Linked DNA regions of Homo sapiens: regions 2, 3, 4, 5, 6 and 7 are each linked to region 1. The links are contacts of gene promoters, found by promoter capture Hi-C in blood cells and fetal thymus (Javierre and others, 2016). All regions are on one chromosome and are shown on one strand. Each heading gives the region's core, a stretch centred on a gene start or on the middle of the fragment in contact. The rest is flanking DNA. Distances are from core to core; before and after follow the strand shown.

What was found. The method cuts DNA at HindIII sites, captures the fragments that hold promoters and counts their contacts. A CHiCAGO score of 5 or more calls a contact.
Region 2: a fragment that was not itself captured here is called in contact with the fragment with the promoter of BOD1L1 in region 1 in 4 of 17 cell types (naive CD8 T cells, monocytes, total B cells and 1 more); the score reaches 9.6 in naive CD8 T cells.
Region 3: a contact is called between a fragment that was not itself captured here and the fragment with the promoter of BOD1L1 in region 1, in 1 of 17 cell types (total CD4 T cells). The highest score is 5.2, in total CD4 T cells.
Region 4: a fragment that was not itself captured here is called in contact with the fragment with the promoter of BOD1L1 in region 1 in 2 of 17 cell types (monocytes and M2 macrophages); the score reaches 7.2 in monocytes.
Region 5: a contact is called between a fragment that was not itself captured here and the fragment with the promoter of BOD1L1 in region 1, in 1 of 17 cell types (M2 macrophages). The highest score is 6.6, in M2 macrophages.
Region 6: a contact is called between a fragment that was not itself captured here and the fragment with the promoter of BOD1L1 in region 1, in 3 of 17 cell types (M2 macrophages, monocytes and naive B cells). The highest score is 8.9, in M2 macrophages.
Region 7: a contact is called between a fragment that was not itself captured here and the fragment with the promoter of BOD1L1 in region 1, in 1 of 17 cell types (monocytes). The highest score is 5.4, in monocytes.

What each region holds. Positions count from the first base shown.
Region 1 is chr4:13,626,427-13,629,037 of GRCh38, reverse strand. BOD1L1 (biorientation of chromosomes in cell division 1 like 1) reads left to right here and starts at 1,313. Exons shown (of 26, transcript NM_148894.3): 1 at 1,313-1,693. The coding sequence starts at 1,451. It overlaps MIR5091 (microRNA 5091), which reads right to left and starts at 1,173; the gene lies at 1,081-1,173. RefSeq lists enhancers at 423-1,153, 1,157-1,316, 1,154-1,884 and a silencer at 1,457-1,656. The HindIII fragment of the contact is 7,220 bases long and covers 1-2,611 here.
Region 2 is chr4:14,976,859-14,979,469 of GRCh38, reverse strand. The region is part of intron 7 of CPEB2-DT (CPEB2 divergent transcript); the gene reads left to right. Among named protein-coding and RNA genes, the nearest start is that of CPEB2-DT, 24 kb to the left of the region's middle. The HindIII fragment of the contact is 4,392 bases long and covers 1-2,611 here.
Region 3 is chr4:14,951,299-14,953,909 of GRCh38, reverse strand. All of the region lies in intron 7 of CPEB2-DT (CPEB2 divergent transcript), which reads left to right. Among named protein-coding and RNA genes, the nearest start is that of CPEB2-DT, 49 kb to the left of the region's middle. The HindIII fragment of the contact is 3,387 bases long and covers 1-2,611 here.
Region 4 is chr4:14,866,681-14,869,291 of GRCh38, reverse strand. All of the region lies in intron 1 of LINC00504 (long intergenic non-protein coding RNA 504), which reads left to right. Among named protein-coding and RNA genes, the nearest start is that of LINC00504, 20 kb to the left of the region's middle. The HindIII fragment of the contact is 2,551 bases long and covers 49-2,599 here.
Region 5 is chr4:14,808,996-14,811,606 of GRCh38, reverse strand. The region is part of intron 2 of LINC00504 (long intergenic non-protein coding RNA 504); the gene reads left to right. Among named protein-coding and RNA genes, the nearest start is that of LINC00504, 78 kb to the left of the region's middle. The HindIII fragment of the contact is 3,678 bases long and covers 1-2,611 here.
Region 6 is chr4:14,788,844-14,791,454 of GRCh38, reverse strand. All of the region lies in intron 2 of LINC00504 (long intergenic non-protein coding RNA 504), which reads left to right. Among named protein-coding and RNA genes, the nearest start is that of LINC00504, 98 kb to the left of the region's middle. The HindIII fragment of the contact is 2,973 bases long and covers 1-2,611 here.
Region 7 is chr4:14,766,728-14,769,338 of GRCh38, reverse strand. The region is part of intron 2 of LINC00504 (long intergenic non-protein coding RNA 504); the gene reads left to right. Among named protein-coding and RNA genes, the nearest start is that of LINC00504, 120 kb to the left of the region's middle. RefSeq lists enhancers at 497-546, 587-806. The HindIII fragment of the contact is 5,250 bases long and covers 1-2,611 here.

The sequences.
Region 1 (2,611 bases), core at 64-2,563:
AAACCTATCTGGTATATTTCCCAGAATCTGAAAGAGTGAAAAAATAAGGATTAAGTAAACAAATCCTTTGGCAAGCCAGGTGGTTTTCAGCTCTTTGCTTTCCATAAAATAGAAGGAGGGCCTAATTGAAGTCAGCTCATAGATAATCAAATCTAATTTTTTGAGGTCAAGAATTGAATGATATTGCTACAACAAAACTCTTCCATTCCTAGGCACAGTACTTGTTTATATGAACAAGGTTTCTCAGGGCACACAGCTATAAAAATTACAAATAGGAATAGAATTGATGCTCAACCCTTCTTTTCCTACTAATAAGATATATTCAGCCACAGATGTAGGAACTTTAAAAAGCAACAATATGCATTTTTCAATAAAGTTACACACACTATTTAGTAATTATGAAATTTTCTAATATTTATGTTGCTTTGACCACGTACTAATAATAATTTCAAAGATGATGCAGTCCAAAAGCAGGTGATTTGCTAGCTGTGTAATCTTACTCAACATACTTAATTTATCTGAGCCTTGGTTCCCTGATTTGCAAACTGGGGACAGTAATCAGACCTAGCTCTTAGTGTTTGTCCAAAGATTAAATGCGTTAATACATGTAAAAGCACTTAACGCCACGCTTGGTACATAATATGTGCTATAGATGTTTTACCTGCTATAATCATAGTAATCAATAGCAAATCTCCTAAAAATAAAAGCCTGTCGATTTGTCTTCACAGATAGGAAGAACGGGCTGGAGGGATCGGATCTAATCCACAGGCACACTGCCAGAAACAAGGGACCCCCACGGGGAAATGGTATGTGCAGGCAGAAGAGAGACAGAAGGAACTTGGAGCTACCTGCTGGGACAAGAATAGTGCAGGATCACAGGCTAAGAACGAAGAGGGTTGGGCGAAGTTAGAATGAGCAGATCCACGTAGGGTTCGCATTACAAATGTCTATGGATCTCTATGCACTGCTCCGGGAAACTGGAGCAAGAGAGGCAGGCCTAAAATGCCGTCGCGGATGAAGCGGGGCCAGAAACGCACTGCCCCCGCTCAGACCTAGGGCCCCAGGTGTCGCGCGGGTCGAAGCCCTAACCTCCAGGGACTCCAGACCCCTGCCGGTGACCTAAACCCCACAACCCGCGACCAGCACAGTCTTGTCGTCTCCGTCGCCACAGTCGCCGCCACTTCCGGCGCAGCTCGGCCTCGCGAGGGCGCTTGCGCCCGGCGACGGTCGAAACTGGCTCTTCGCGGCCTCCGTCGCCGGACTTTCGTCAATGTTGTCACCGTCTTTTCCTCCTTTCCCCCAGTTCCCTTTCACTTCCGGGGTTGCTCTGGATCCGCTGGTTCCGTAACAACATCCCGTTGGCTTCCCTCAGGCGGCGGGACCAGTGCAGCCGCCGCCTCCCAGGATCGTCCGCCGGTCAGGGCCCTTGCCCTCCCCGGCACAGGCCACCATGGCCACCAACCCACAGCCGCAGCCGCCTCCTCCGGCGCCGCCGCCTCCCCCGCCGCAGCCGCAGCCGCAGCCACCGCCGCCGCCGCCGGGCCCCGGGGCTGGCCCCGGCGCGGGCGGGGCGGGCGGCGCGGGTGCGGGCGCCGGGGACCCGCAGCTCGTGGCCATGATCGTGAACCACCTCAAGAGCCAGGGGCTCTTCGACCAGTTCCGCAGAGACTGCCTGGCCGACGTGGACACCAAGGTTAGGAGCGCGCCGGGTTTGGGGGTCTGCGAGGGAAGGGGAGGACCCAAGGGCGCGCTTCTTTTGCAGTGGCTTCCTCTTGGAGCTGCAGCTGTGTGCCACGGACTGTGCAAAGCACAGAGTGTTCATTCCTTAGCGTGTCCTTTGGTTCGTTTTACCGACTAGTGTTTAAGTACCTACTACGTGCCAGTCATGGTTTCGGCACAGTGATTACCCCGGTCTGATGAGCAAGACTAAGGCATTGTTCTTACAGGAACTGGTTTGGAAACAGTGGCGCTAACAGTAGCCAGTTTTGTATTCATTCTCATATCTGATGATTTTACTTTGTATCGAAGTTATGTTTGCCTTCTTTCTTGAAGGTTTCTGGGCGGTAAGGGCCTTTATCCTTTGGAGAAATGACTAAATGGTAATTGAATCAAGTTATGTGTAATATGCTTTGCTGGACATCGTGGGGGTGGGAGCGCAAAGATAAGGAGGCAAACCTGAGACAGGACTTTAGTATTGTTTCTAGCAGTGATTGCCTGATTTAGGTAACTTAGGCCATGTCACCATTCTAAGGTAAGAAGGGACAGGAAGGTGGGGTAGAGAGAACCGAGTCATTCAGTGGAGAAAAGATGCAGGAGAGGTGACAGCAGATACTGAAGTGGAGAAAGGACAGGAAAGAGAGCAGATTCAGGAGAGTAATGTAGAGAAGGGAAAGGACAGCAACAAGGTTCCCTGTCCAGAAAGAGAGGCTGGAAAGGGGAAGGGATTTTGTACCAAATGTCAGAGTGAAAGGGACATTAGCAGGAACAAGTAAACTTAGCTGGATTGGCAAAGAATTAGCCAAAGACACCAGGAAAGAGCAGTCAGTGAGATGGATGGAAAACCACAGTACAGTCTAGAATTCTGGAAGCAGAAAGCATGTTGGAAAATTAA
Region 2 (2,611 bases), core at 42-2,541, 1.4 Mb before region 1:
TCTCCCAACTGCACAGCTGGCTCCTCATCTTTCAAACTTCATCTAAGATATATTTCCTCCTAGAAACCTTCATGGGCTGTCCACTCTAAAGTGTCCTCCTTCTCAGGCCATCTTTTATTTCCTCAGAAGCATTGCTCACCAATATGTAAGATTTAATTCATTTATTTATTTTATTGTCTATTTCATTTGAATATGAGATCCATGATACACTCAGATATGCCCTGTTTGACTTATCCCCAGCTAGTTACTTAGCATGTAGCACAAAATATGCTCACAATAGAAGATATTTTAGTTCTATGTTAAATGAATATAAATGTCATGAATCTTTAATATGCAATAAAAACATAATAATCTTTCCCTGAGATTTTAAGAGAAAAAGCTAGACTAATGGTTCCCAAACTCTATTTTATGTAGTAATAAAATAAGAGGGAAAAAAAGCAAGAATGAAAATTATGTTGTGAAGATTCTGCTATTGTTGTTAAGTATGTCTAGTTATAAACAAGAAAATCGCCACACTTTGTATGTCTGCCATCGTTGTACCAGACAGAATGGTGGAGAGCTAAAAGCATTCTAGGCCAAAGATTGCATCTATAAAGGCACAAAAATGGAGATGGTATGGTGGCTTGGAGTAAAATCAGTAAGTATAGTTTGAAGAAAGTGACCAATAACAAGTTTGAAGAAGTTGACAGGTTTAGATGATGGAGAGTTTTATAAACATGCGAAAGCATTTGGATTTAACTCTATAGGGAGTGTGAAGCTCTATAGCATAAAACAGCTTTCAATGGGAGAATGATGTGGTCCAATTTGTATTAAAAAATTATTTTGTGGCCAATATGGCAAATGGTTTGGAGGGAGATGAGATACAAATCAGAGAATCCAGTCAGAAGGCTGTCGGAATAACCCAAAAGCGAGATGGTAGGTCAGGCTTGAAATGAGGAGATGACATTGAGGATGAAGGTGAAGAAACTGGTCTTTGCTATTAGCAAAATAGCAAAAATTCTTGGAATGATTCCCATAACGTTCCAATTGAACACTGGTTCCAGTTCTGGCTTCTATCTTCTACCTATGAGATTTCAAATGCATTTCCATGTTGCATATCAGCTGGCCTCATAACATCCTTTTTTTTTTTTTTGCAAATATATCTTAAAGAAAACCATTACACTATAGAGCATTCATTATGAGGATTAAAAGAAGAAATGGATGTGAAAGCACTTTTAAAGTACTAGACAAATGGAAGCTATTTTTACTACCAGTAACTCAATTTAGTTTACAAAGAGAAAAATCACTTTCTAGCATGTAAGCTCTGGTAAGCAAACTCCCTAGGCAAAATGAATCATTCTTACAACCATAGCACTTTTTTGTACTTCTATCATAACACCTCCATTAATTATAAATTGTTTATGCATTTTTTTCATAGTGTATAAATCTTTTGGAGGCAGAGACAGAGGAGTCTTATGAATCATGCACCCTGGTTTATGGTAGACAGTAAATGGTCAGCAAATGTTAATTGCATGCATGAGTGAATGATTAGTTCACAGGAAAGGATAAAGCCAGGTAGCAGGGAGCTGGTACAGACATCAGAGATTAAATAAACAATAGGGCAAACATGTTAAAGTGAAAAGATTTAGTGTTATTAATGATCATATATTCCATTTTAGTCTACAAGATATGTATAGTGTACGTAGTGTATATACTGGTATATATATATGTGTATATATATATGTGTGTATATATATGTATATATATGGTATATATATGTGTATATATATATATGGTGTATATATATATATCTTGTAGACTGTACTACAAGACTGAATGCCAAAATTATCAACTTGCTGTATGTAAAGTTATTTTGTAATACTAATAATTAAAAATCCTTTTGTAGTATTATATTTGTTTATCCATTCATTCAGCAAATCTGTTTCCAATGCCTGTTAAGTACAAAACACCGTGTGGACATGTTCCTATTCTCAAGACGTTTGCTATACAGTAGGAAGGAGAGGAGGGCCTGCTCTCTGCCAAACACTGTCCTAGGAGTTTTGCACAATCCATTGAGTATTCTCTATATTTTTAACAGCCCTGAGAGGTAAGCATTATTACACCCATATTACAAATAAGAAACCTCAACACATGGACACAGGGAGAGGAATATCACACACCGGGGCCTCTTGGGGGGTTGGGGGCTAGGGGAGGGATAGCATTAGGAGAAATACCTAAGGTAGATGACAGGTTGATGGGTGAAGCAAACCACCATGACACGTGTATACCTATGTAACAAACCTGCACGTTCTGCACATGTATCCTAGAACTTTAAGTATAATAAAAATAATAATAATAGAATAAAATAAGAAACCTCAACTAAGAGAATATTATTAATTTCGCTGAGACCACAGAGCTAGGAAGAGGCAGAGGCAGGTCGATTGATAACAAGGAAGAGCATCAAGGATTATTTCTTTTTCAGAGTCTGGATCCATTGCAGCCATTTTGAAATTAACAAATAATAAGGGAAGGCCAACAAGGACAGATGTATAAAAGTATAATGAATCATAACAAGAGCTTCATCCTCCTGGAATTATTGGTTTAGTAGTACGATTTGGGAAAATGAATACAA
Region 3 (2,611 bases), core at 84-2,583, 1.3 Mb before region 1:
GAGGGTACACAGTAGTATACAGACATTTTCTGACATGAAAGGCTCAAACGTTTTGCCCACTACACATCTTTTCTTAAGAAGCAAATGAAGAATGTTCTTTATAAAATGAGGGAGTCAATCAAGGAAGAGAAAGACATGGTATTAAAAAACCAGGCCATGTAATGCCTGGGGTGGAGGAGGGTGAAGAAAAGAAGGCTTAGCATGAAAGCCAGGTAGCTGGCCCGGAGATCAAAGGGTCCACAATAGGAGCAGAAGAACTGTAGGCCGTGGGAGAGAGGGTGCAGGATGGGTGGGTCGAAGAAGGGAGGGCAGGAGGCAGAAACGTATAGAGTGTTTGAAACTGTAGCCCAGCAAGTGCAAAAATTACCGATAGATTTTAAAAGATCCGTTGGGGCATTTAGGACAAAAGTAATAGTAAGTACATTTAAAAAATTAACAGAAACCAGGATGTATTAAGAATCCGAGGAAAAACAATAAGTTCTAGGAGAAGGAATAAGTAATTATGGTACATTACATGGTTTAGTAATAAACAACATTTATATAGTCATAATGATGCACCCAGTATTTGATATATAATTAAATTGAGGGATGTGGGTTGAGGATGGCATAAGAAAGCTAACCCCTTAAGTTCTATAACAGGAAGTCACTACAAAAGGCTGAAAATTTATAAAACAAGATTTAGCAGTGTAAGCATCTTATTTTGAAGATAGGGAAACAATTACCAGGAGAAGTAGGTACAACAATTGAAAGAGGTTGGCTCTGGGGAGCAGGACTGGGGTTTTGATGGTGACTGGGGCAGAAGATTACCATTTTCTCAGTATAATCTAGTTTATTTAAAGAACATTTATTATTTAGATGAAATAAAACAACCAGTATTAAAAATCATGCTTCCTGTGCAGCTTTTTTTGATGCCTTCCATGCAGTCAAAATTACTTGTCTTCCCCTCTTCTCCCACTCCAATTCTCCCTTCTCATTTTGTACTCATCCAGATTATATGACCTATTTTGCTAGTTTCATTTATTTATGATCTGGCTTTTGAGACTAATGATGAGTTATTTGAGTGTAGGGGCTATGTCAAAGGTTTCCAAAATTGCCTTGGTTCACATTGCCTTTATTGTCTCAGTAATGTTTTGATGAGGCCCCTAGTCTAAAATAAACACCCAACAGGTCTATTTATTAGGTAATGAGGTCCAAACAACTTAAAATATCTTTTGTGTTTCAGGAATGAGCACCAGGAGTTTACAGCACATGTTATTCATATCAGAGATGTCCCAGTTGGTATCCCTCAAATAAGACAAACTAACTTCCCCCACAACAAGGGTTGCTGAAATTGCTAACCACAATAATAGTCAAAATTTAAAATGAAAGAGAAAAAGACTAACCCAGAATTCTGCCAGTCAAAAACATCACCTGTTTTCACTTCCATATTTCTATCTAGTTTTTTCCATATGCAGAAAATTACATATTTTTACATATAATCAGTAAAGATGTAATTTTGTGTCATATTTTCTCAAGACTTTCAGACACAGCTTTCCTTGCCAGTACATGGTCTTCATAATGGTCATTTCCAACAGCTGTGTTATATTTCATCAGATTTTAGTGGTTATTGAAACATTTCCCTATGAATGGATGTATTGATTGACTCTTTCTTCCTCTACAATTAACATCTTCCTACACATTTCTCTATTCTTCTTTGTGATTATTTACCTAAGTTATTTTCTGGTGGAGGCTAAAATGGGTATGAATTTTTAGAGTATAGGAATCTCAAAACGGAGAGAAGTTGCTTTGTTAAACCTCAAACTTAAGGCAGGGACACCCTCTAAAGCCATATGCCTCTTCTTGACTCCTTTCTATAAATTTCACTTTCTCACAAGAAAGTTTATCCAATTGCTGGCCAGTTCAAATTTCTAAAATTCGGAGTTTCTTGATCCCCACGCAGCATCATTTGCTTGACTTGCTGGCCCTCATTCTGTCCTCAGGAGCCATACAAAACAAGTATGTTTTCTTCTTCCACATGACAGCCTTTCAAATATTTGAGGATGATGATAATGGACAAGTTGACCTTTGTACAATCTTTTGACTAAGGTATTCCCAGTCTCTGACTGTGAATCCTCCTACTCAGTCACCTTTGCCATTTTCTGCCCCAGTTACCCAAACTTCTTCCATTCCTGCCACACATCCACAGCTCTCCCAATGTCCTCCATGGGCTGTCCCTTTAGATCTATGCCACTGTATCCTGTTAAATCAAAGATGCCATCAATTGTAAGATGCAATATGATTTTTTAATTTTTTTAACTAAGAAACAAAAACTACTGCCAATTAAATTCTGACATGATATCAATTGTAAAGCACACCTCATTTTCCAAGAGAATAAAATATGAAAAAAAAATGTGTCTTAGAATCAATGACACACAGGAAGGCAGTTGTTTCTTTTGTTTTTTAATTTTTTATTTCCATATGTCTTTGGGGAACAGGTGGTATTTGGTTACATGAGTAATTTCTTTAGTGGTGATCTGTGAGATTTTCGTGCATCCATCACCTGTGCAGTATACACTGAACCCAATTTGTAGTCTTTATTCTTTACCTTCTTCCCACCCTTTCCCTGTGAGTC
Region 4 (2,611 bases), core at 75-2,574, 1.2 Mb before region 1:
TATTCCTGCTTCCTCCTCAAACTGGGAGTAGGAAAAGCTGGGCAAGCTTTACTCATTTGTACTCAGAAGCTGTCAGGAAACTAACTGCCAAAATGCCTGCATTTGATGGCAGTACCTCATATGGGCATTGCTCTGAAGTCTCAAAGCCTTTCTTTCCAGTGTGTGTGCATGTGCGTGTGTGTGTTTCATGTGAATAACTTTGGCTGGCTGAGAAGGCATTTTCAAAATGGAGAAATTAATAGACAGGTTAAGCAATCAGGATAGTATAAAATACTCAGCAAGGATTGCAACAAACATTAAGGGCATAGAGCACAAAACTTTTAGTAGACTGCAAACTGTTCACAAAAAAGTGGAAGAGATCACTGTGGGTTTTCTCAGCTCTGATATGCTAATCATGTGTATTGTGAATTCCCAGGGGGACCCAGAGTACCTAGTGCTTCCCAAACTTACTTGACTAAGAACCTACTGGAGCGCAGGCAGCTTTCTTGGATAACTAGCGTTCCGAAGTACACAGTTTGAGAAATACTAATCTGTAGGTTTTCTATATAATATTAATTCACTAATTTAATTTTATTCAGTAGTGAATTAGGTCCTGGCTACTCAAAGTATGGTCTGTGGACCAGTGGTGTTTGCTTCCTCTAGGAGCTCCTTAGAAATACTGAAACTGTGTTCTACCTCACCTGTCTTTCCCCACATAGACAGATTTAGAACCTGCATCTTAATAAGATTGACAGTCATTTACAGGCATAGTAAAGTTAGAGACAGACACACTGCTGATAAGGAAACAAAAGTTGTTAATATAGAAGTCACATAGAGTTCAATTTCATAAAGTGTGTTTCATACATGTATTTAAGGTAATGTACAATAAACACAGGAAGTGAGAAAGGTATTTGGACACTGCTTTCTCAAAATGCTGGCCATTTCTTCTGAGGGTATATTCTGGTGTCGGCTCAACAAGGACCTCAAACAACTGTGAGCCCACAGCTTTCTCTGAGTCCTTTTTCTTGTCCTTTTTAGGAGAGGGTGCAGTCCCATAGCATGTCCACATTTGGAACCGACCGGTATGAGATGCAGCCACATCCCATCAGCTAATAGCACTAGGTGGCGAGGCCCCTGGAGAGGGGTTTCAGCTGGGAACACACAGCTAAAGCCCCTTTAATTGCCCAGTCAGCTGTCAGGGCTGTAAACACATTTCTTCCCATTCAGAGCCGTTTGCCCCTCTCTGTGACCTCTCATGGCTCTCAGACCCTAGCCACGTGGCCCAGATGGCATAATCTGTCAGGCCAAAGCAGGTGATAGTAGGGCTTGCCGTTAGGTAATCAGTGACTATAATTAGCTGGGGTGAAGGGATAATGGGACCAACTGCAGGGCTGTGGGGAGGGGGCGGGGGCCAGGGGAAGCCCTGGATGGATGGGAGGGAGCACAGTAGGAGGGAGGCTTGCTGCCTTCCCTCCTTATTTCTCCTTTCCCCTTCCACCTTCTCCCTCTAGTATTATGTTTTCTAGCACATGGAGTATGTGTGTGCTGGGGGCTTCATCCTCAATGGGGAAGGTCAGGGTTGAGCACTGGCAATTCAGTAAGTGAGTTGTCTCGCAGCCCTGATCAATTTTATTTCACAGAAGCTGTTCCAGAAATCTATGGTGCTTTGGTAATTAGTTGGCTACAAGGACCTTGTGGGAGCAAGGATCGGGGTGGGGGTGGTGTGCTGTAGAGGTTTAGAACTTGATTCTGGGGAGTCAGACACACTGGCATTCAGATCCTGGCTCTGCCATCAGCAGCCAGGTGAGCTCAGGCTGGCGTAGCAGCCTCTCTGTGTCTCTGACAATAATAGGTCCCAATGCTCAACTTCTGGGCATGTTGTCAGTGCCAAGTAAACATGGCCATCAACACTGCCTGAAACATGCCTAATCTATAGCAGATGCTCTGAAAATATCATTTTATTTCTCCTTTCTTTCTTGATAGGAATGATTTTGTAATATGATGTCAATGATATGGAAATAACCAACCAAAAAATTGCTGTTCACAGATCTTAGAGGGTGTCTTTGATAACAGGTGAAGCTCGGTTATGTTTATCAAAAAGAGGTTGGCAGGTGGCTGGGTGCACTGGCTCACACCTGCTATCCCAGCACTTTGGGAAGCCGAGGCAGGTGGATTGCTTGAGGTCAGCAGTTCAAGACCAGCCTGACCGACATGATGAAACCCCACCTCTACTAAAAATACAAAAATTAGCTGGGCATGGTGGCACGTGCCTGTAGTCCCAGCAACTCTGGAGGCTGAGGCAAGAGAATTGCTTGAACCCGGGGACGGAGGTTGCCGTGAGCTGAGATCTCACCACTGCACTCCAGCCTGGGCAACAAAGCAAGACTCTGTCTCAAAGTCTCAAAAAAAAAAAAAAAAAAAAAGGTTGACAGATGAAGTTGGCTTTGTTTGTAACTTTTATCAGGAGAACTGTCTATTCATTTTCTAAATCCAAGTGAAAGAGATAGGGCAGTCTACGAGTAAACATTGAAGCCTTGTGTATTTGTCCTGTGGCCACAGATGATGGTTTTCCTGGAACAGAACATGCATTGTGGAGCACACTGTACACATTGTTGAAGCTTGTCCACTTCTG
Region 5 (2,611 bases), core at 42-2,541, 1.2 Mb before region 1:
TACCCTAAGATGGTAGAAAATTGATAGTTGCAAGATACAAATCAGACCCTATTTTTAGCCATTTTTTCTCTACATCATTTCATTCACTTGGAGTTATCTAATAATAGGCTAGAATGAATCAGACCTTATCTCTCACTGGCTTAACCCTTGCATCCCTTGGTTTCTGTCCACCCTGGAACAAAGGCTACAGTGTTCAAGCTGTCAATTAGTAGGTTTAAAAGTAAAGGCTATTCTTGTAGCTCCAAAGCCTTGCAGGTCTAATAGGTGAGGGAACTTCAAGGAACTCCTTTGTCAGGGAGACTTTTCAGGAAGCTGGAGCTCGTGCTTAGCCTTGAGGGGCAGGTGTAGTTGGACTATAGAGAAGGGAATTGTTAGGAGAGAACAGTTGTGTATTCTTGGTAAATTTGGAACTCATAATTCAGTAGTTAAGAGCCTTGTTTCTGGAATCTGACTTCTTGGGTTCAAATCCTGGTTCTAGCCCTTTTTGGGAGAGTGACCCTAAGCAAACATATTACTCTCTCTGTGCCTCATCTGCTGAAGTGGAGGTTAGAAATAGTACCTACCTCATCAGGTTGTCATGAGGATTAAATGGGTTAAAATATGTAATGGGCTTAAAACAGTGTCTTGGACATAGGATGCATCTGGAAAGGCTATTTGATACTACTGTTGACCGTTCTTGGTGTTCTTAATCCATGTAGAGAAACATCCATTACCATATCACTCCTGGCCTCTTCCCTTGGAGGAGAGAAATAACTAAACTCTTTGGAGAGTCTAGAGAGAGAAACTGGCAATACTTAGAAACTTTCCTTCCTCTTAGGAACTATGTGTGTTTGCTCTGGCTCCGAATTGCTATGTCTGGGAGATAATTCTGGCAAATTCTGGTATTCAGTATAAGGAAGTTTAAATGCCTGTGGTTATAAGCCATATTCTCTATTATCAGCTTAACAGTGTCACACTTTGGCACAACCTGCCTGCTTCCTTAGATTTCTCTACTGGTTTGGAACTTAATCAGTAAAGAGGTTGACTATTTATTTATTGGGTCCTATTTAAGGCCCCAACAGGATCACATTTACAATGAGTAGAAATGCATGGGAGAATAAATGGCAGGGGTCTTAGTGTCCCAAGAGCAGAAGATTCATGCCTGAGAAATTGGAAGAATTAAACAGTCAGTGTTCTTAGAGATGGCTGAAGGAGCAGCAAACCAGCATAGCCCACATGATTGTGAGTGACATTCCTAAATATCAGAATCCCTACACTCGTGGAGTCAGAGGATGCAAATGTTGACACTCAGAAAGTGTCATGGCAGCTGCCTCTATAAAGGAGCTGTTCTTAGCCCAGATCCTCAGCAATGAATTACATTAACATGAGTAAAATGTGTGCAGAGCCCAAAGGTATGACATAAAGCATAAAAACAGCATTCAAGACAGTGCACTCAGATCAGAGAGACAGACACAGAGGACCGCAGGGCCATGCATGCAGAGCAGCCATTCTCAGGCCAAGGGACATTTATGCACAGATATTTGTGCAGCATTGTATGGACTAAGCAATCTAATCCAATTGCTTAAGATGATTTATAAATGAAACCAGCAGAAAACAAATGGCAAGGACTGGGAATATGGTCTTTGAAACATAGAAAAGGTGCCCCAAGGCAGACTAACATAGCAGTATGAGGACATGGAAAGGAACCAGCAGAACTTGATCAATGCAAATGGTAGAGCAATCTAGTGTCAGCTGGGTCAGATACTCTTCTCCCTGGCACACCTGGCTAAGTATGATTATGAGTGGTAATCACAAATAAATGTTAGACCACGCTGCAGGTGTATTTGGTAGTTTGGGGTGAATAACTTTGCTCAAGGTACTTGTTTAGTGTAATCCATGTATATATGCCTTACTTCACAATTCAGGTTTGGATGACTTTTAAGCAAACCCATTATGTCTGTTGTTATAATGTCTATGTTAAAGGATCCATACAAGTATATGTGTTTAGAACTAGATAGACCCCACTAAACTTTCAGGCAGGGAAGCAGTAGGCAGTATGGGAAAAATCAGCTCAGCAGATCGTGTTTATGGCCACCTTTTCCTAGTATTTTCTTTTAGTCTAGGAATAATCCTATTTCTAAGTAAACAAATTAAGATTCTCATCACTTTTGCTAAATGTTTAAATATCACTGGAAATAGTAACCACACTGAGGCTTCTGAGGGTGCTGGAAGAAGAGACCAATTTAGTTAATTAGCATGAATAATTCTGTTTGATTTCCTGTCCCTCTCTTCCTCTCCCTTCCCCTCCCTTTCCTTCCCTTCCCCTACCTTCCCCTACCTTCCCTCCCTTCCGCTCCCTTCCCCTCCCTTTTCCCCTCCTCTCCCCTCCCCTGTCTTCTCCTTCTCTCCCCTCCCTTCCCTTCTCCCCTCCTTTCCCCTTCTCTCCTTTCCTCCTTAGGAACCCAGATAGTTCCTAAGAGGAAGGAAAGTTTCTAATGTAATAAGACATCATAGGTTGTTCATCTGGAAAGCCAACTCTGGAAATAATTTAACAGGCTGGATATTTATCAAAGTGTTTCTTTGGGATGAAGACCAGTGGAAGGGAAAAGAAGGAAGCAGGACTGGGCAGGGG
Region 6 (2,611 bases), core at 73-2,572, 1.2 Mb before region 1:
CTTTTCTTATTTGGATGCCTTTTATTTCTCTCTCTTGCCTGATTGCTCTGGCTAGCACTTCTAGTATTATGTTGAACAGGAGTGGTAAGAGTGGACATTCTTGTTTCAGTTCTCAAGGGAAATGCTTCCAGTTTTTGCCCACTTAGTATGATGTTGCCCATGGGTTTGTCATAGATGGCTTTCATTATTTTCAAGCATGCTCTTTCAGTGCTTAAGTTCTTGAGGGTTTTTATTATGAAAGGATGTTAGAATTTAATGAAGACTTTTTCACATTTATTGAGATGACCATATGGTTTTTGTTTTTAATTCTGTTTATGCGGTGAATGACATTTATTAATTTGCATATGTTGAACCAACGTTACATCCCAGGAATTAAGCCTAGGTGATCATGATGAATTAACTTTGTAATGTGCTGTTAGATTTGATTTCCTAGTATTTTGTTGAGAATTTTTGCATCTATATTTGTCAGGCATATTGGCCTGTAATTTTCTCTTTTTTTCATGTCTTCACCAGCTTTTGGTATCAAGATAATTGTGGCTTCATAGAATATGTTGGGAATGAGTCCCTCCTCTTTGATTGATGTTTTGGAATAGTTTTTGTAGAATTGGTACCAGCTCTTCTTTGTATGTCTGGTAGAATTCAGCTGTGAATCCATCCAGTCTATGGCTTTTTTTGGTTGGTAGGATTTTGTTGCTGATTCAATTTCAGAACTCAATATTAGTCTGTTCATGGTTTCAGTTTTTCCTGATTCAACCTGGTGAGACTGTGTGTTTCCAGTAACTTACTCATTTCCTCTAGAATTTGTAGTTTGTGTGTATAGAGGTATTTATAATAGCCTCTGAGGATCTTCTGTATTTCTGTGAGATATTATGTCACCTTTGTTATTTCTAATTGTGGATATTTGCATCTTCTCTCTTTTTCTCTTGTTAATGTAGCTAGTGGTCTATTGATCTTGTTTATCCTTTCAAAAATACCTTTTGATTTCATGGAGTCTTTGTGAAGATTCTGGGACATAAGTTTTGTTCAGTTCTGACCTGATTTTAGTTATTTTCTTCTGCTAGCTTTGGGGTTAGTTTGTTCTTGCTTTTCTAGTTCCTCTAGGTTTGCTCTCAGATTATTAATTTGAGATCTTTCTAACTTTTTGAGGTAGGTGCTTAGCACTATAAACTTTTCTCTTAACACTGTTTTTGCTGCATCCTAAAGATTTTGGTATGTTGGGTTTCTGTTTTCATTTATTTCACATAAGTTTTTGATTTCTGACTTAATTTCATTCTTTACCCAAAAGTTATCCAGGAGCAAGTTGTTTAATTTCCATGTAATTATGTGGTTTAGAGAGATCTTCTTGTTATTGATTTTTAGTTTTATTCTACTGTGATCTGAGAGTATGGTTGGTATTGTTTTGCTTTTTTAATGTATCGAGACTTGCCTTATGGTGAGCATCTGGTCAGTCTTGAAGTACGTTCTGTGTGCAAATGAGAAGAATGTATATTCTGTGGTTGATGGATGGCGTATTCTGTAGATGCCCATTAGGTCCAAATGGTGAAGTATCAAACTTAAGTCCAGAATTTCTTTGTAAATTTTCTGCCTCAGTGATCTCTCTAATGCTGTAAGAGGGGTGTTGAATAGGGCTTTCCTCACTATTATAATGTTATTAAGTCTTTTCATATTTCTAAAGTAGTTGTTTTATGAATCTGGGTGCTCCAACGTTGGGTGTGTATATATTTAGGAAAGTTAAGTCTTCTTGTTGAAGTGAGCCCTTTATCATTGTGTAATGCCCTTCTTTGTCCTTTTTTACTGTTGTTAGTTAAAGTCTATTTTTTTCTGATATAAGAATAGTGACCCCTGCCTTTTTGTTTTCCATTTTCATAATAGATCTTTATCCAACTCTTTATTTTGAGTCTATGGGTGTCATTATGTGTGCGATGGATTTCTTGAAGTCAGAAGATGAAGGGATCCTCTTTTTTTTTAAAAAAAAATACAAATTGGCGTTCTGTGACTTTTAATTTGGATTGTTAGACCTATTATCATTCAAGGTTAATATTGATATATGATGTTTTGGGGCTACCACGAAGTTATTGGCTTGTTGCTTTGTAGTTTGTATTGTGTGGTTGTTTTATAGGGTCTATTGACTATGTACTTAGGTGCATTTTTGTGGTAGCTGTTATTGTTCTTTGTTTCCATGTTTAGAATGCTCTGAAGAATCTCTTGTAATGCTCGTGTAGTGGTAATGAATTCCCTTAAAACTTGCTTATCTGGAAAAGATTTTATGTCTCCTTTGCTTATGAAACTTAGGGAGGGATATAAAATTGTCAGTTGAAATTTCTTTTCTTGAAAAATGCTAAGTTTAGACCCCCAATCTCTTCAGGCTTATAAGGTTTCTGCTGTTAGCCTGATGGGATTCCCTGTGCACATGATCTGACCTTTTTCTCTAGGCCTTTCTCTTTAAGGTTTCTTTTGCATTGACCTTGGACAATCTGGTATCTCTATGCCCTCCTGTTCATTTTGTACAGTATCTCATAGTATTCTCTGGATTTCTTGTATCTGGATGTCTACCTGTCTAGTAAAATTAGGAAAATTTTCTTCAATTTTTCTCTGTAATACGTTTTCCAGG
Region 7 (2,611 bases), core at 42-2,541, 1.1 Mb before region 1:
TATGACATTTTTTTGCACATACAAAAAAAACTGGCGTATCAACATCAGAAAAATCACAACTAGCTTGAACTTCCATACACATATTTATATGTTAGGGTGATTTTACATTGAATTCCATATCAGAAGAGGAATCACAGTCTTTCCAAGGCTTGAGGTCTCAAAAGGACAGCCTTCATCCTTGTAAACAGCAGAACATAAGCATTTAGCCAAGTTACCTGATAAAGAATTACTTGTGAGCTGTGGAATGAAGAAGAGTGTGTGTGTGCATGTGTGTGTGCATCTGCGCATAGGTATGCATGTGTGTGTACATGTGCATGCATGGATATGTGTGTACAAGTGTGTGCTTGTGTGGTCAGGGAAGCCTAGTGGAGAATAAATCAATCATTCTCTTCTATGTGCTTTTGTAGTACCAGGGTCATATTCCTAGTCTAGCTTCTGCTTAAATTAATCATCTATGTGTTCATTTGTAGCAGATGCTGCGGGGTCTTACCCATACTATATCCTCTTGGCACTCACCATTCTAGTGCATGCCTACAGTATCCTACTCCAAGCACCTGCAGCTTTCAGTCTGAGAGAATTTTCTGCATCACAGACAGGGAAACCAAAAGTGCAAGGGGATTATGGTACCTGGGAGCAGCCCTCACCTCAACCAATTATGGATGTGAGTTAGATGATAAGACTCTGGACTTCCCCCTTGCTATTCTCATGATAGTGAGTGAGTTCTCATGAGATCTGGTTGTTTGAAACTGTGAAACTGTGTAGAACTTCTTCCTTCACTCTCCCTCTCACTCCTGCTCCACCATGTGAAGAAGGTGCTTGCTTCCCCTTTGCCCTTCTGCCATGATCATAAGTTTCCTAAGGCCTCCCCAGCCATGCTTCCTGTACAGTCTGTAGAACTGTGAGTCAATTAAACCTCTTTTCTTCATGAGCCTATCTCATCACCCCTTGGGCAGGGTCCCTTGGAGGTATGTTCTACAACATGTTCCAGGGTTGCCCAGGTAAAACTGAGCTCTGCACTAACCGGCATGAAGGCATACCCTCTATTAGCTTCCTTCCCTGCCCAATCTGACTCTGCTACTCACACACTTGTGCCAGTTGTCCTGGGATTGCTTACAAACAGACCTCTTGCACACCCATTCTGGTCTCAGTCTACCTCCAGGGGAATCAAACCTAAGACAACAACTCTCCTCTCAAGGCAAAGCTGGATCTGACACAAATCCTGGCACACAGACTTAATAAATGTCCAGCAAATAAATTAGTGAATAAATAAATGGACAATGAAATGTGAGTGACTGATAGCAGTTTTCCCCCTATTTTTTCTTTAATCAAAGCCAAATAAATCCGTAATAATAACATTTTGGAAGAGAAAATATAATTTCCTTGGAAAGTAACTGGTGGGTGATTTGGACTCTGTGGCATGGGAGGCAGCAAGGCTGGCCTTAGAGGAACGAGTGAAGCTGCATTGATGTTCTCTCCCTCTCTTCCCTACCCTGGCTTCTCCTCCCCTATGGTACCTACAACGATGCAAATAACAACCTGCCTTCCCTTAGTGGCAGTTTTGATTAGATTCAAAGATTTCATGGAGGATATATCTCAAGATAAAGACTAAGGAGATTTGCCAAATCCTTTTTAGTTCTCAGAAAAGTGATGCTGTCTATATATTTATTCAGTTCATTTGTCTGTAAATGTATGCATTCAGTAATTTACTTACTTATAAATTTGGTCATACTGTAATTGATTCATACACTCCTTCCCTAGCTGACTCAAACAATTTTGCACAGAGGAGCTGATCCTTAGGCACATGGTCCCTAGACACCAAATGCCTGGGTTAGGATCCTGGCTGGTAGGCTATCTGAGCTTCAGTCTCTTCATATGTAAAATGGAGATAGAGAGTATCCCCTTGCTGAGAAAGTGAAGTGATTAGCAGTGTATGTATAGCACTCAGAACAGTGGCAGCACATAATCAGTGTCAGGGAAGCAATCAGCTTCATCCTGTTGTTTGAATTAAGCCATCTGTGCTGAGTATTGCTCACTCCTTCATTTTCTGTTTCACTTCCTTTATTTCTAGTTTTCTTCTCCACAACAGAAAGACCACATCAAAGTGGAAGAACTTAGTGTCCCAACTTCCAAATGAGTCCTGAAGTTTTAACTTTCACAGGCTCTATCCTGACTATTGCCAAAAGTTGAAAAAACTGCCAAGTGGATAAAATGTGTCTATTGTACTTTTTCAACTCCATTTGGGGGCTGCTTGTGCAGAACCTTCAAGCCACACTGCTATGATTTGGCTCTGTGTCCCCACCCAAATCTCATATTGAATTCTAATCCCCGATATTAGGGGAGGGACCTGGTGGGAGGTGATTGGATCATGGGGTGGACATCCCCCTTGCTGCTCTCCTGATAGTGAATGAGTTCTCATGAGATCTGGTTGTTTGAAACTGTGTAGCACTTCTCCCTTCTCTTTCTCTCTCTCTCTCTTCCCCCTGGTCCTCGACCACCATGTGAAGAAGGTGCTTGCTTCCCCTTCACCCTTCTGCCATGGTCATATATTTCTGTCTCTCCAGCCATGCTTCCTGTACAACCTGTGGAACTGTCAGTCAGTTAAACCTCTTTT